2 separate regions of the Homo sapiens genome follow, and region 1 is linked to region 2. Evidence: promoter capture Hi-C in 16 types of primary human blood cells and fetal thymus (Javierre and others, 2016). All regions are on one chromosome and are shown on one strand. The core of a region is centred on a gene start or on the middle of the fragment in contact, and the rest is flanking DNA. Distances in the headings are between cores, read along the strand shown.

Region 1 (6,428 bases), core at 221-2,720, 640 kb after region 2:
CCTTAAGATGTTTTAAGGGAGGGAGAATTAATCATTACTCAGAGGAACTATACAAGTTAAAACCCCATATAATGTAATAGAAAGAAATATAATATGGTGGTTAAAAATTTAGTTTTGAAATCTGACTCCAGCAGTCAAATTTCATTTCTGCCACTTACTGGATGACTTTGGGAAATCCTCCCCCAATACTGAACATCAGCTTCACCATCTATAAATAGGAATATGATTATGATCATCTTATCTCAAAGTTCTTATAAAACCTATCTCATAAATTTCTTATAAAAATAAGATGAGATGAAGCAACAGTACTTCTTTTGTTCAATAAATGCTCAAACTGGTAGCATTTTTTAATAGATTCCAAAGTAGCAAAGAGTCTGTGCTCTTCCCTGTCCTTTAAGGGAATTTACAGGAGGCTAGTGTTAAAGGATGATTGGAATCACAGGTGGGACCTTCAGAGCCCATTTTCTTAACCTGTGCTTTAGGAAGCCTGAGAGGTGAAATGGTATTGGAATCCCAGGATTTGCCCCCAAAATAGGGGATTTGTGGCTAAGATGCTGCTACCCCCAAGAGTTAATAAATGGCAACAATGTAGATGTATTTAGTACAGTCAATTTTTTATTCAATTTGACTTAGGTAACAAGATATAAAAAAATAGCATTCAGAGTTTATAAAGAGTTTACATTTACAATCCTGAAATTTCAAATTATCTCCTAAAATAATTCGTAAAATATGATGACACTGAGCCAGCATTCCCGTGTGCCAAGAGTTTCCTAAAACTCAGTGCTGTTGTTCTCTTTAGATGGGGGATATATTCTTCAACCTGCCAATCTCTACCCAGCAGGCCTTATTTATCTAAGTTACTACCTGGTCTGTGCAAGCATTTGATTTTGCAATTCCTGGGCTAGAGGTGAAAGATCAGTCTAACAGCAGACACTTCAGAGGGTAGGCTGAACTGGGAGTGGGCAAAGAGACTGGAACATCTTCCCAAATTTTCTGGTTATTGGGAAGCTTTCCTCATCCACTTATCACCACCATAATGCCCTTAACCACCAGCAGCAGGGACAACTTCAAATGTGGAGCAAAACAAGTCAGATCTGTGACTTATGATCAACTTCTATTGTCAGTTTCCAGGAGTCAGGAAACACATCTAAGACATGCCTCTGAACTCTAAGGATCTACAGATAATTACTACTCATTAGCAGCTGTTTCACCAGCAAACTTCAAACCCAGTATCTCTAGTTTTTGCTCAGGGCTTTGGTTCTCTAAGCCTTCCTACTAGCCAAGATGACTGACAGCTGGACCTCCCAACCCCAGAGCATGGACAGGCAGATTGTGTATGTAAATGTGGTCATGTGTTAGAAGCCTGTGTATCAAACAGAGAGGGTACAAAATAATACTTCTTTTTTGTTTCTAGTTTTGCGTTGGTGAGCTGATGATATTTTATGCCACTCAACAATGGCACTTGATTTAACATTAGTGTTTCCACCTATTACGTGGACTTGAATGATCTACCTCATGTGTTTCATCATTCTGTTTAGCTGCCAGAATTGTTGCCAACACAGTAACATTCTTTTTGAACCACTTTAGCTAACTTGACCACCACCTTTAAGGAACTTAAAACTTGGGTTAGCACTATTTATTTCTCATTGGTGATTAAAATCTGAATTTGAATGTTAAAGCAGATGCCTTCCCTGCCTTTAGAATGAAACACTCCTTGGTAGAGCTAAGCCAATAATTATATCTTAAAGGATTCTAGATTTTATAATGGTTCACACTTAATCTGTAATAATCCTGAAAACTCAGTAATGAGGCTCTCATGGCACAATAGCAAGCCGTTTGCCACATCTTCACATAACGGGGTCCCTGTTTTTCAAGGAGAGAGTAAAAGGTAACAATTTGGCAAAAGAGGGTTCCAAAGCTATGAGATAAATTGAAGCTTTAGGGTCTCTTCAAGATCTCTGAGACAATAGGATAATTCAAGAGCCCTCCTTCCCTCCTTCCCCAAGAAAACATAGCTGTCCTTACCTGATTCTAGTACTCAAAAGAGGTTTTGCATCCCAGTGAAGCAAATGGCCATCCAGAATCCTGTCCCCTTTCCCCTTGCACGTTGCTGGGCTTACACCTCTCAGCACTTTCTGAAACCTACTGAGAAAAATTTTCAGTCAAGTCCAGGAGTGTTAGAGCTCTCATTAGCATACCTTTGTGGGCTTGGTACAAGTATGAGATTAAAGAGTATTGATAACAAAAGGCTTATACATGAACTCTCTCTTAGGGCAGACTGTTATCAAAGATAGAAGTTGCAGAAGGCCTGCTGGACTGAAGGTCATTTCACTTTTTCTGTAACTTTTCCAGCATGACAAGTTCTGTGCAAAGCTTATAACCTGAATCACAAAAAAACAAAACAAAACAAAAAAAACACCTACTTCATTTAACACTGGTCGTTCTACAGCAAAGAGATTAGTAATATATGCTGGACATCAGTGTGGGCTGTGGATAGCAATGGGCAATATTTCCACCAATTTCAGAACAGAAAACTAATCAATTTTTATGAGTGCTCATAAAAAGAATGCAAAATTTTAGATTTACTAAATGTGAGTAGTAACTAATACAGCAAGACTGCTATGCAACTATTAAAAATCACACTGAAAATAATTTAATGACATGCAAAAATTGCCAAATATTAAGTAATTTTAAGTTTATAAAACAATACGATCCCATTTGTAAACATTACATATGTTTACTTTATATACATCATATACTTTATATATATTACATATTAAAGACTGTAAGTACAGGAAAATGTTAAGAGGTAATTATCTGGTGATTATGGGTGGTTTTGTTTTCATTGTTTTGTCTCTTGGTATTTTCTATCATAGGCATGCATCACTTTTGAAATGGGGAAATAAAATGTTTTCCTTCCTCTTGGAGAATATAGACTACAGCATGAAGTTAAACAATGGACCATGGAGACAAAGGAAGCAATAAAGAAACCAACCAACCCATTCCCTTTTTTTCCCTAGTAAAATCTAAGCTGTCTAGGACACATTTTAAAGAAGGCCATAAAAGCCGCTTAATTCCTTGCAGAGTTTGATCAGAGACAGGCCTGCAAAGTTCCAACTGAAGTATTAAAGACACAAGTTCCTTCAGATAGGGCATTTAGTAATGCATCTTAAATTTCTCTCTGCTGCTACAGAGGGAGAAAGATTAAATCATGATATTAAACAAGGTTTTTTTAGTGCATTTATGTTAGAATTCTTGGTTGCAAGCAAACACCAAATCTAGTTAAGGTAGGAAAAGAGGGGAAAAAGAGACAAAAAGTAAATTCACTGGAAGACAGCAAGAAAAGCTGCAGACCCAGGATCAGGATGGCCAGGAATCAGGGCATCTCTGCGTATCTAGGTAGCAGGAGCTACCGAACAATCTCTTCAGGGCATCACCATTGAGATGGATGGACTGCAACTACTTTAGGTCTTGTGTTGCTCCACTCAGGAGCCAATTTCTGAAAGACAGCTATATAATAACTTTATCCTTTCATCTGAAGGGATACTTAACTGGGAATCTTAAAAAAAAACATTCACAAAGAGAGAAGAGTAGTTCTCCAAAATAAAATCAAGGTGCTATAGCTGATGAGCCAATAAAAACAACAAATACCCACTAGTGACCTTCCATTGGATTTCCTTCTCCCACCTTTCTCCCTTGCAGTGGGGAGGCCTCTTGACTGGCCCTGTGGTCTCCTCCAGACTTCCCCAGCCATCTTCCCCATCATAAAAAGGAGCCATGCTACGGCCCATTCAGAGTCCTGCTCAGTGACTCACAATCTAGACAGATGAGATTATTTTAACCAGGGTTTTGGTAGACAACAATGGCATAATGTGTCACCTTTCCTAGTCTACATTTGAGGGTCCATAACTGAACAATAATGGGGTGAGAATTGAGAAGATTCCAAGCGCCCATCAAAACAACTGACTCCTACAGACAGGAACAAGACTCAATACTCCCCTGGGGTGAGATGAAGATACAGTCACTGTGAATATTTTAACTTGTGCACATATTTTATTTCTGTCTGGAATGATCCTCTCATGAATCCAATTAGATAGGATAAGCTAACTGTTCTTCTCCACACTACACCCCCGAAAATTTACTCATGTAAACATACTCTACCCATTTTACAGAGGAGGAAACAGACACCAATTTTCAGAACACATAAGGGTGGTTAAAAGTGAGCATGATTCAGCAATGGTATTCAAGGATGTAAGCCCAAGTCTCCAGACTCCTAGACAAGAGCTTTTGCCTCTCACCAAATTATAATTGTCTACATCATCTTGACCTGAACCTTGGCATGGCAGCCTCTGAGGATATGAAAGTCTATGCGTTCACTCCTTACTAGCAATTGATGGAGCAAAGCTATGTCCTCTGTCTCTTAACACCCCATCACAGAGGGAAAAACTAATCAGCACAAAGTAAAGGCAGCTGATGAATAATTGTATTCAAGCTGGAAGAATACTTCTCCCAAAACCCTAACTCCTAAATCATTAAGCAATAATCACTAGCATCACAATTGTTCTTAATATTTTACTTATGCAGTCTTAGAAGGCATGGTGCTAATTTCATATACTTTGTGCTAAGGGCCATATTCTTTCATTATTTAACTCTTAGAGTAATTAAAGATTAAATAACTTCTGGCTGGACTTGGTGGTTCACGCCTATAATCCCAGCACTTTGGGAGGCTGAGGCGGGCGGATCACGAGGTCAGGAGATCAAGACCATCCTGGCTAACACGGTGAAACCCCATCTCTACTAAAAATACAAAAAAAAAATTAGCTGGGCATGGTGGCAAGCACCTGTAATCCCAGCTACTCTGGAGGCTGAGGCAGGAGAATCGCTTGAACCCGGGAGGTGGAGGTTGCAGCAAGCCAAGCTCGCACCACTGCACTCCAGCCTGGGATACAGAGCAAGACTCTGTCTCAAAAAAAAAAAAAAAAAAAAAAAAAAACTTCTAGAAAAAATATACTGTTATATATAGCATCCAGATTGTCATCTCTAAATAACATTTCTTGCTGAAAGAAACTGGAAATCCTTGGAGAAACAGCTGGTTCTGGGTCTGGGGCAGGAATTACATGAACTAAGCTGGGAATATTTTATTATGCCAGAAGTCAAAAAAGTCATCAAAATTAGGAAGACAGTATCTAAAGAACTAGAGCGCTTCCCACTAACCGAAGATTATTTAACTTTAGCATCAATTTAAAAAATAACTGCAATGGGTTGAAGCAAATCAAATATGCTTAAATCCATGATGTCATAATGATACTTTTTAAAAAGATGGTAGGGAACCAATTTGTTATTCTTAAAATTGGTTTAAAAAAAGGAGAGGAGTAGGAATCAAGAAGTCAAGGATATACTCTGCTTTTCCTGCATGCATGTACAGCAGGAAAGCCAAATAGTTGATGAGGGACAGTTTCTCATGATAAAAGTATTCCAGCTAATAAATGAGGAAGAAATGACAAACTTGAATCTAAATATTTTGCAATCCCTGATGAAATGATGGATCTAGAAAAAGATCATCAATAGCTGATTAAGTCACCAATAGAGAAAAAGAGAGACAACAAGATACTGCAGCCTCTGAACCACGTACACAACCGCATACTGCAACCTCTGAACCATCTGTACAACATTCTCAACTTTACCAAAAAGCGAAACCTAAATCGGATCAGCCTCTAGATCTAAGTGCCTGTTCATAGGAAATACAAAAGACAACTGAATATGTATGTTAAGGACAACATGGGGGTACAGAAGGCAAAATTTAGACTGTGAGATAGTAAGACCAATGATCCAGTTTGTTTAAAAAACATGTTAGAACTGAAGAGAAAGAAGAAGAAGTAGGAAGGGGGAGGTGGTGAGGGGGAGACAAGAACAAGAGCAAGAATGGATTAGGGAGGGGAGAGAAGGGCAGAGGCAAAGGGAGAAATGGCCAGGGAAAGGGAGGGCAGAGGAGAGGAAAGGTGAGAAGAGGCTGCAGATTAAAAGAGGCTTAAGAGACAGGTCAAACCACTGTATGTTGTAGGCTCAGAACCAACATTATTTGGAAACTGATTCAAACAAAAACAAAAAATTTACGAAATGGGGGAAATTTTAACACTGACTAGATATATAACAATGTTCAGGGATTGTTTAAAATATAATAATGGTATTGTGATTATACTTTTTAAAGAAATTTTTATGTTTTAGAGACGCATTCTGAAACACAGATTTAAAAAAAGAAATGGTATATTAATAAAAATTGCAAACATCAAATGGTTGGATGGATGGACAGATCAATGGATGGATGGTTGGTTGGACAGTTAGCAGAACAGATGGGAGGACAGATGGATGGACATAAGCTTTGTTCTTGAAAATGCTAGTTGACAGGAGATAGGTAGGTAAGGAGCACT
Region 2 (7,064 bases), core at 4,329-6,828:
TTAAATTTTATATGAGCTCATATGTATGTATGGAAACAAATTTAGAAAGGGTTTGGAAAACGCACACCAAAGCAGTAAGGGTGGTGGCATCTGAGAGGTGACCACCACTCAGAACTTTCATGGTGCTCTGATTTCTATGAAAAGAATGCATATATGTATGAATTACATGATTAATTTTCATTCTAATAAATGTAGAGATGGATTTTTAAAAACCACTGACACATCAGTTCTCATGCAAAATGCTATGGCCAGTGCTGTGCAGAATGCCTAACAAGCAGAATACAGATCTTGTCTGCAAGGGGCTCTGAGGTGTAGGGGAACACCTCCAACATTGTGTGGGATACATTTCAGAAGAGGAGTAGAAAATTTGATTGGATGGGGGCATGTTCACAATGTATTGGGAATCAGGGAAGAATATGGCAACCAAGGAGAGGCAAAACTGGGCAGGAACCAAGGCAACATTGATTGAAAGGTGTGGAGGGAGGAGCTCCTGGGGCCTGTAAGGGAAGATGAAGATGGGAAGGGTGGGAGGCATTGTGGAAGGAAGGCCACCATGTGGGGAGATGATGCTGACTCCAGTCCCAGGCAGCAGGGGTCCCTGAGAGGTCTGTGAACAGACTGGAAGCTTGCCTGAAACTTTGCAGAGAAAAGAAGCTTGGCATCCCTGCAGGGGTGGATTGTCAGGGTCTGGAGGCAAGGGACAAGTGAAGGGATTAACTGTCCCACTGTGGGGGAAGATGTAGGATCTGGGCTGGGGGCAGGCAGGGAGTGGTCTCAATGGAGGAGGGAAATGAATCTGAGACATTAATTGGATTGAGACGGAAAGAAAGTGGAGAGAACAGAAACCAAAGGGATTTGGAGGCCATGCTTCCAACGAATGATTCATAGTTAGTGTCAGGGAGCCAGAAAAAAAGCAAGTGAGCAAGGTCCTGTCCCTGGGAGCTGTAGAGAGGAGCCCTGGGGCCCACCCACAAAGCAGCACCTGCAGTCTCTTTCCCTCTCGAAGCCCAGCTATGTTGTGCACAAAGCAAGTCTGGGCACCGAGGACAGGCTGGCCAAGGGCAGGCAGGCAGGCACGTAGTCCTCTGGCTTCCAGCCACCACACTCACAGGTTTCTGGGAAAGGCTGACTGGGGCCACTTTGTTCCTTTGAATCTGAGAATATATGACTGGGGAAGCCTAAATTAATTAAATGATGCTGAGGCCCGCCTGAGCCGGTGCACAGGGGATGGGTTATGGAGCCCTGAGCAAACTGCACCCCTAGCCCCCAGTGCTGGAATCCAGAGAGGCTCATGAGCTCGATTGGAACGAAGCCTGTGCTTAAGTGCTTCCAGAGAGACAAAGAAATAATAAATCAGGAGCAGGTGCCCCACCCACACACTGCCATCACCAACACCAGCCTGCTTCTCCACAGAAATACAGTGGTTTCACCTCTCTGGAACCAGATGTTTCAGGGAAGCAACAAATGGCAAAGCCCTGGAAATGACATGGCCCCACAACCTTCTCAGAAATGAGGCCAGGCTGGGCTGGCACCTCCATCCACAGCAGCACCCCACCACCACAACCCACCCAAGACCTCCAAACACCCCCTAGACCTCACCCAGGCACTGGTGCAGCATGGCTATCCTTCCACCCCTCCCAAACTCCCACACACCAGGACTCCCCCATCCCCAGCAAGCCCCCCTCCCCTGACAGGGCACTGATCCAGCAAGGAAGAAATTTTAGTCCATCAGACTGTGGACACAGTTGTATCTTGTGGATAAAATGAGAAGAAGTGTTGTCAGCTAGAAATCACCAATTTGTCTCTATCCATATAAAATAATAACAATTAAACTCCTACTAGGTATCAAGCATTGGGCTAGACATGTTCAAGTGAGCTATCTCGCAGTCTTTAGCCATCCTGCAGCAGGGCCACATGGTGGCTGGGAGCAGGAAGCTGGAACTAAATCACCTGCATGGGAATCCCATCTTTACCACTTGTGAGCTCTCTGACTGAATACATTACTTTACCTAAGTGTCTTTGCCTATAAGAAAGTAATATGAAGGTTGGTGAGAGAATTCAATGAGTTAGTGCTTATCAAATGCTTAGAACGGTGCCTGATGCCTTATAAGCTCTACTATGTGTCTAGTAAATACGTTCCTTCCTTCCTCTACTCATTCAACTTTAATTGAGTACCAGATATGAACGCTGCCCTAACAGCTGCTATTTCTGGTTGAGAAAGGAGAGAAAAATGCTTCCGTTTTCTCCTACAGGATTGGACAGGAAGTTCTCTGTTGCCTGCAAGTTATGCTCAGATAGAGGAGTCCGGAAAGGAATTTACCAAGCGTTCAAGTGAAGAGGAAGCCAGAGGGGCGGGGCCTCCGTGGGAGGCTTCTTGGTTGCGGTGGGGCCGGGGCCAGCACCCTGGACAGCTCCCGGCGGCTGGCGGGGAGAAGAGGCTTTGCCAGGTCCCATCTCGGCTCAGACCCTCCCGTAGCCTTTTGCTGCAGGGGCCTGACGCCTCCTTGCAACCCCGGCACTCCCGTATTTGGAGCCACGATGGATTGGGGGGGCGTTGCCCTCTGATCTGAAAGTTAGAGAATGAGGGAGTTTAGTGTCTTTGGAGCCTCCTTAGGGAGCCAGCCCAGGACCTTCCTCCTCCCATGGGTCTTGATCTGCTCCTCACCCCTACACTGCCAGCGTGCGGCCACCTTGGAGATGGAGCAGCAGGAGCACGACGCCGTGCCGGGAATAGGGAAGCAGTGTGAGGACCACAAGACAGGTCCCCCAGCCTGGGTTTAATTCCAGGATCTGCTGCTGGGAGCTTGGGCAAGCACCCAGCATCTCCACGCCCAGCTTCCTCACCTGATAAGACCAGGGGAATAGCACCTACACTGCACCAGGATTGCAGGAGAATGGAGTAAAACAGCACACACAATACTCCTGGCACAAAGCAAGTAATAAATGAGTGTGCCTCCTGCCATACAGGAACCGAGGACTGGAGAGCTAGTCATGAGCCCAGAGATACCTGGCTTCATGCTCAGGAACAGCCATGTGGGCCAGAGGGCTGGAGATGTGGTCTGCACCTTGAAGGCCCTGGGAAAGTTCCTGTCCTCTATGATTCCTCTGTTCTTCAGCCACTAGACATAAAAAAAAATTGTCCTTCAAGTCCTCCTTCCTCCTTTCTTTAATCAGACAGGGGAAATAGCATGTGCATAAATAATAATTGTTTTGTAGGCTGGGAGACTGCCCCTTTAAGAGCCTCATAATGGGAGAGTCAGAAGAGCCCAGAGGTCTCAAACGGAAATGACTGGAGAACCAGCAAGTGGCATAAGTGTGTGAAGTCAGCTGGGGCGAGATTGGGATGTGCTGGAGAGTGTGCATGTACTGACGAAAGGCCATCAAATACAATTTAAAATAATTAGCCCACTCCAAAGAGTCTTCTGCAGCACGCACTTCTGCTAAGGGCTGCAGTGAGTGGGCTCTCACCTCAACCTGAACCAGACGGAGGCTGAGGCTGGGCCCCACTGAGGGGCTGTGACTTGCCCAAGGTCATCCAGGGCCAGGCCTGTGCCCACATTGGGACTCTTTTCCTCCCTCAGACAGAGGGCACTTCAGTCACTGCAGAGCAGGTGGCAGCAGCCCTTCAGTGGATGAGTTTCTCCTTTCCCAGGGTGACTGGGTGGGTGAAGGAATTGAGCAACAGGTGGCCAGGCTGCCGCCTCTCACCCTGACACATTGGTCCCCATCCCCTCATCCTACAGCCATCTCAGGGACAGATGGAGACATTCCAATGCCCTCCGGGTCCTCCACCAACCCAGACAGAGCCTGGAGTCACAATGCCCACCTAGCCAGAGGGATCAGCCAGCTAGCCAAGTGCCCCCTGTGTCTTTCATCTGTTCTTCACAAGACCCACAAGTGAAAAATGAGGATAAACCGCACATTCTACACACGATAACAACATAGCAAGTCCTTATACTGCTCTTACTGTGTGCCCGGCCCCCTTAGCAGTAGGTACTATTATTATTCAATTTTACAAAGAAACTAACTGAGGGACAGAGAGGCAAAGTAATTCCCTGCAGGTACTCTAATGAGTACGTGGCAGAGCTGGGAGCCATCCTGGTTGTCTGCCTCGAAAGACCACACTCTTTGCACTGCATCGCGGCACTTCCTGCGGGGTGGGGGGCACAATGGGAGAAGCATCTGCGTCTAATGCTGCTTTACTTTTGAGGCCAGAAAAATGGGAAGGCTCCCCTCTGACTCTGGAAGAGAGACGCAAACCGTAATCTCAACAACACAATCCCCACCTCCAACCTCAGCCGCCCTGGAGCCTCTCTCCCGCCAGTCCGCCCACTGGAACACGGGTTCCATGTGCCATCCAGGGTCAACGCCGCTCTGGGGACGCGTCAGGCCCAGCGCACAGCCTGGGCAGCTCAGCCTGTCAGCTGAGCACGGGCGCCTCAAGGGGTGCGGCCCTCTCAGAAGGAAGGTGAGTCTCCCTGGAGCCCCTGACGACAGCGAAGCGGCTGGGCGCTCTCCGGGGAGTGGGCGCGGCACCCAAGAAGGGTTTCTTACAGTTCCAAGAGAGGACCCCAGCCACAGTCACTCCAGAGCCCACCCGGGGCTTGGAGGAGGCTCTGGAAAATGAGGGATGGGGGAGTGTGCAGAACAGGGGGCGGAGGCTGGCAGGAGCCGAGGGAGGGCTTGGTCGGGTGCGAAGAGTGCCTGGGAGGAGTTAGAGTGGGGAGGGGGTGCGGCGGCGGGGAGAGAAGAGGCGGAGCTGGGGGACCAGACCGCTAAAGGAGAAAGGGGGATTCCAGGCAAGGGGAATGTGGCCAGGCAGTGCGGGAGGGCGGCAGCGGCCAGGCTAATATTCGCGACCCCGACTGGGGCGCGGCAACTTCTGCCCTCAGTCCCCACAAGCTCCCGGCCGCGATTCGCGGCCGAGAAATTCTGCGGAGGGGCCGGTGGGTCAGAGCCAGGCCAGGCAGTTGCTGAGCCTTCCCCTCCCCTCCTGGCGGGAGTGTGTGTGCAAGGGGCCAGGGGGCGGAGTCGGAGAAAGGGTTGGGGGTGTCCGTGTCCAGCGCTCCTCCGGACGCGGCTCCACAATCCAGCTGCGAGAACAGATGGACGCAGCGGCGGCTCACCTCGGGGGCTTCCTGCTCGCTGTGCGCCGAGGTCCAGGCTGAAGCGGAGATCGCAAGCCTCTGGCTCCCGCCTCTCCCAAGGGGCCTCGAGGAACCGGCTGCCGCGCCCCCTTCCCCAAGAGGAGAAGAGCGGGCGCTGACCCCGCGAGTCCTAGAACCGCGGGCGGGGGGCAGGCAGGGGGCGGGGGGCAGAGGGCCAGCTACCGGCGCGGAACGCCCATCCCAGGGGCTGGTTCAAGACTTCCACACCGAGAGCCCTTCCTGGGCCTCCAGCCCTGGAGCATCTGGAGAGCGGACCCCTGCCCGGCCACGCCCCGCCCCCGGCCCCCGCCCCGCCGACGTCGCATTAGCATGAGCGACGTAAGTGGCCCGGGCACCACTCGGGGGCTGGGACTCGCCGCGTCACAGCCCCGAGTGGAAGGGAAAAAAAAAGAGGAGGCGGCGGAGGAGGCAAGAGCCGACGCGAGGGGAGGGGAGCGCAGCGGCGGGGCTAACGGGCGGGCAAGCGGGCGGGCGGCAACAGCATGTCCCTCGGCCAGCGCGGGCGGCCTCTTAGCGCGGCGGGGGCTGCTCTGGGCGCGCCCCGGGCGAAGTGCGCCCAGTCTCCGGCCCCGGCCCCTCGGCGCGCCCGACTTCCCGGCCGCCCCTGAGCCCAGCAGCCGCGGGTCCCGGGATCGGCTAAGAGTAGCTGCAACGCCTCGCCGGACGGAGTCCTTTCCTTTCCCGGGACGCTGGGCCATGAGCTCCGCGGCCACCTGAGGCACAGGGGAGTCTGCTCGGCCAGGACAGCCTCCCCGAAGTCCCGTGCCCTCGCCTCTGCACTGCGGGACGCCAGCGCTCGGCCCTGGCGGAGGCGTCCTCGGAAGAGCATCGGGGTGGGGGCATGGAATCCGCGGAACCTGCGGGCCAGGCCCGGGCGGCGGCCACCAAGCTGTCGGAGGCTGTGGGCGCGGCGCTGCAGGAGCCCCGGCGGCAGAGGCGCCTGGTGCTTGTTATCGTGTGCGTGGCGCTGTTACTGGACAACATGCTGTACATGGTCATCGTGCCCATAGTGCCCGACTACATCGCCCACATGCGCGGGGGCGGCGAGGGCCCCACCCGGACTCCCGAGGTGTGGGAGCCCACCCTGCCGCTGCCCACTCCGGCCAATGCCAGCGCCTACACGGCCAACACCTCGGCGTCCCCGACAGCTGCGTGGCCAGCGGGCTCAGCCCTTCGGCCCCGCTACCCTACGGAGAGCGAAGACGTGAAGATCGGGGTGCTGTTTGCTTCCAAGGCTATCCTGCAGCTGCTAGTGAACCCCTTGAGCGGGCCCTTCATCGACCGCATGAGCTACGACGTGCCGCTGCTGATCGGCCTGGGCGTCATGTTCGCCTCTACAGTCCTGTTCGCCTTCGCCGAGGACTACGCCACGCTGTTCGCGGCGCGCAGCCTGCAGGGCCTGGGCTCAGCCTTCGCCGACACGTCTGGCATAGCCATGATCGCCGATAAGTACCCGGAGGAGCCGGAGCGCAGTCGTGCACTGGGCGTGGCGCTGGCCTTCATTAGCTTCGGAAGCCTAGTGGCCCCGCCCTTCGGGGGCATCCTCTATGAGTTCGCCGGCAAGCGCGTGCCCTTCTTGGTGCTAGCTGCCGTGTCGCTCTTTGACGCGCTGTTGCTGCTGGCAGTGGCCAAACCCTTCTCGGCGGCTGCACGGGCTCGGGCCAACCTGCCAGTGGGCACTCCCATCCACCGCCTCATGCTAGACCCCTACATTGCCGTGGTGGCCGGCGCGCTCACCACCTGTAACATTCCCCTCGCCTTCCTCGAACCCACCATTGCCACGTGGATGAAGCATACGATGGCGGCTTCCGAGTGGGAGATGGGCATGGCCTGGCTGCCGGCCTTCGTGCCTCATGTGCTGGGCGTCTACCTCACCGTGCGCCTGGCGGCGCGCTA

Evidence for each region. Contacts are between HindIII fragments. The CHiCAGO score rates a contact against its expected background, and 5 or more counts as called.
Region 1: a contact is called between a fragment that was not itself captured here and the fragment with the promoter of SLC18A3 in region 2, in 10 of 17 cell types (M2 macrophages, M0 macrophages, fetal thymus and 7 more). The highest score is 16.1, in M2 macrophages.

The regions. Positions count from the first base shown.
Region 1 is chr10:50,249,370-50,255,797 of GRCh38, forward strand. It overlaps ASAH2 (N-acylsphingosine amidohydrolase 2), which reads right to left and starts at 2,147. Exons shown (of 21, transcript NM_019893.4): 1 at 2,026-2,147. RefSeq lists a silencer at 2,100-2,394. The HindIII fragment of the contact is 928 bases long and covers 1,007-1,934 here.
Region 2 is chr10:49,604,732-49,611,795 of GRCh38, forward strand. It overlaps SLC18A3 (solute carrier family 18 member A3), which reads left to right and starts at 5,579. Exons shown (of 1, transcript NM_003055.3): 1 at 5,579-7,064. The coding sequence starts at 6,010. It also overlaps a transcript of CHAT not described here. RefSeq lists a silencer at 2,252-2,546 and enhancers at 3,916-4,711, 4,712-5,506, 6,551-7,064. The HindIII fragment of the contact is 17,270 bases long and covers 653-7,064 here.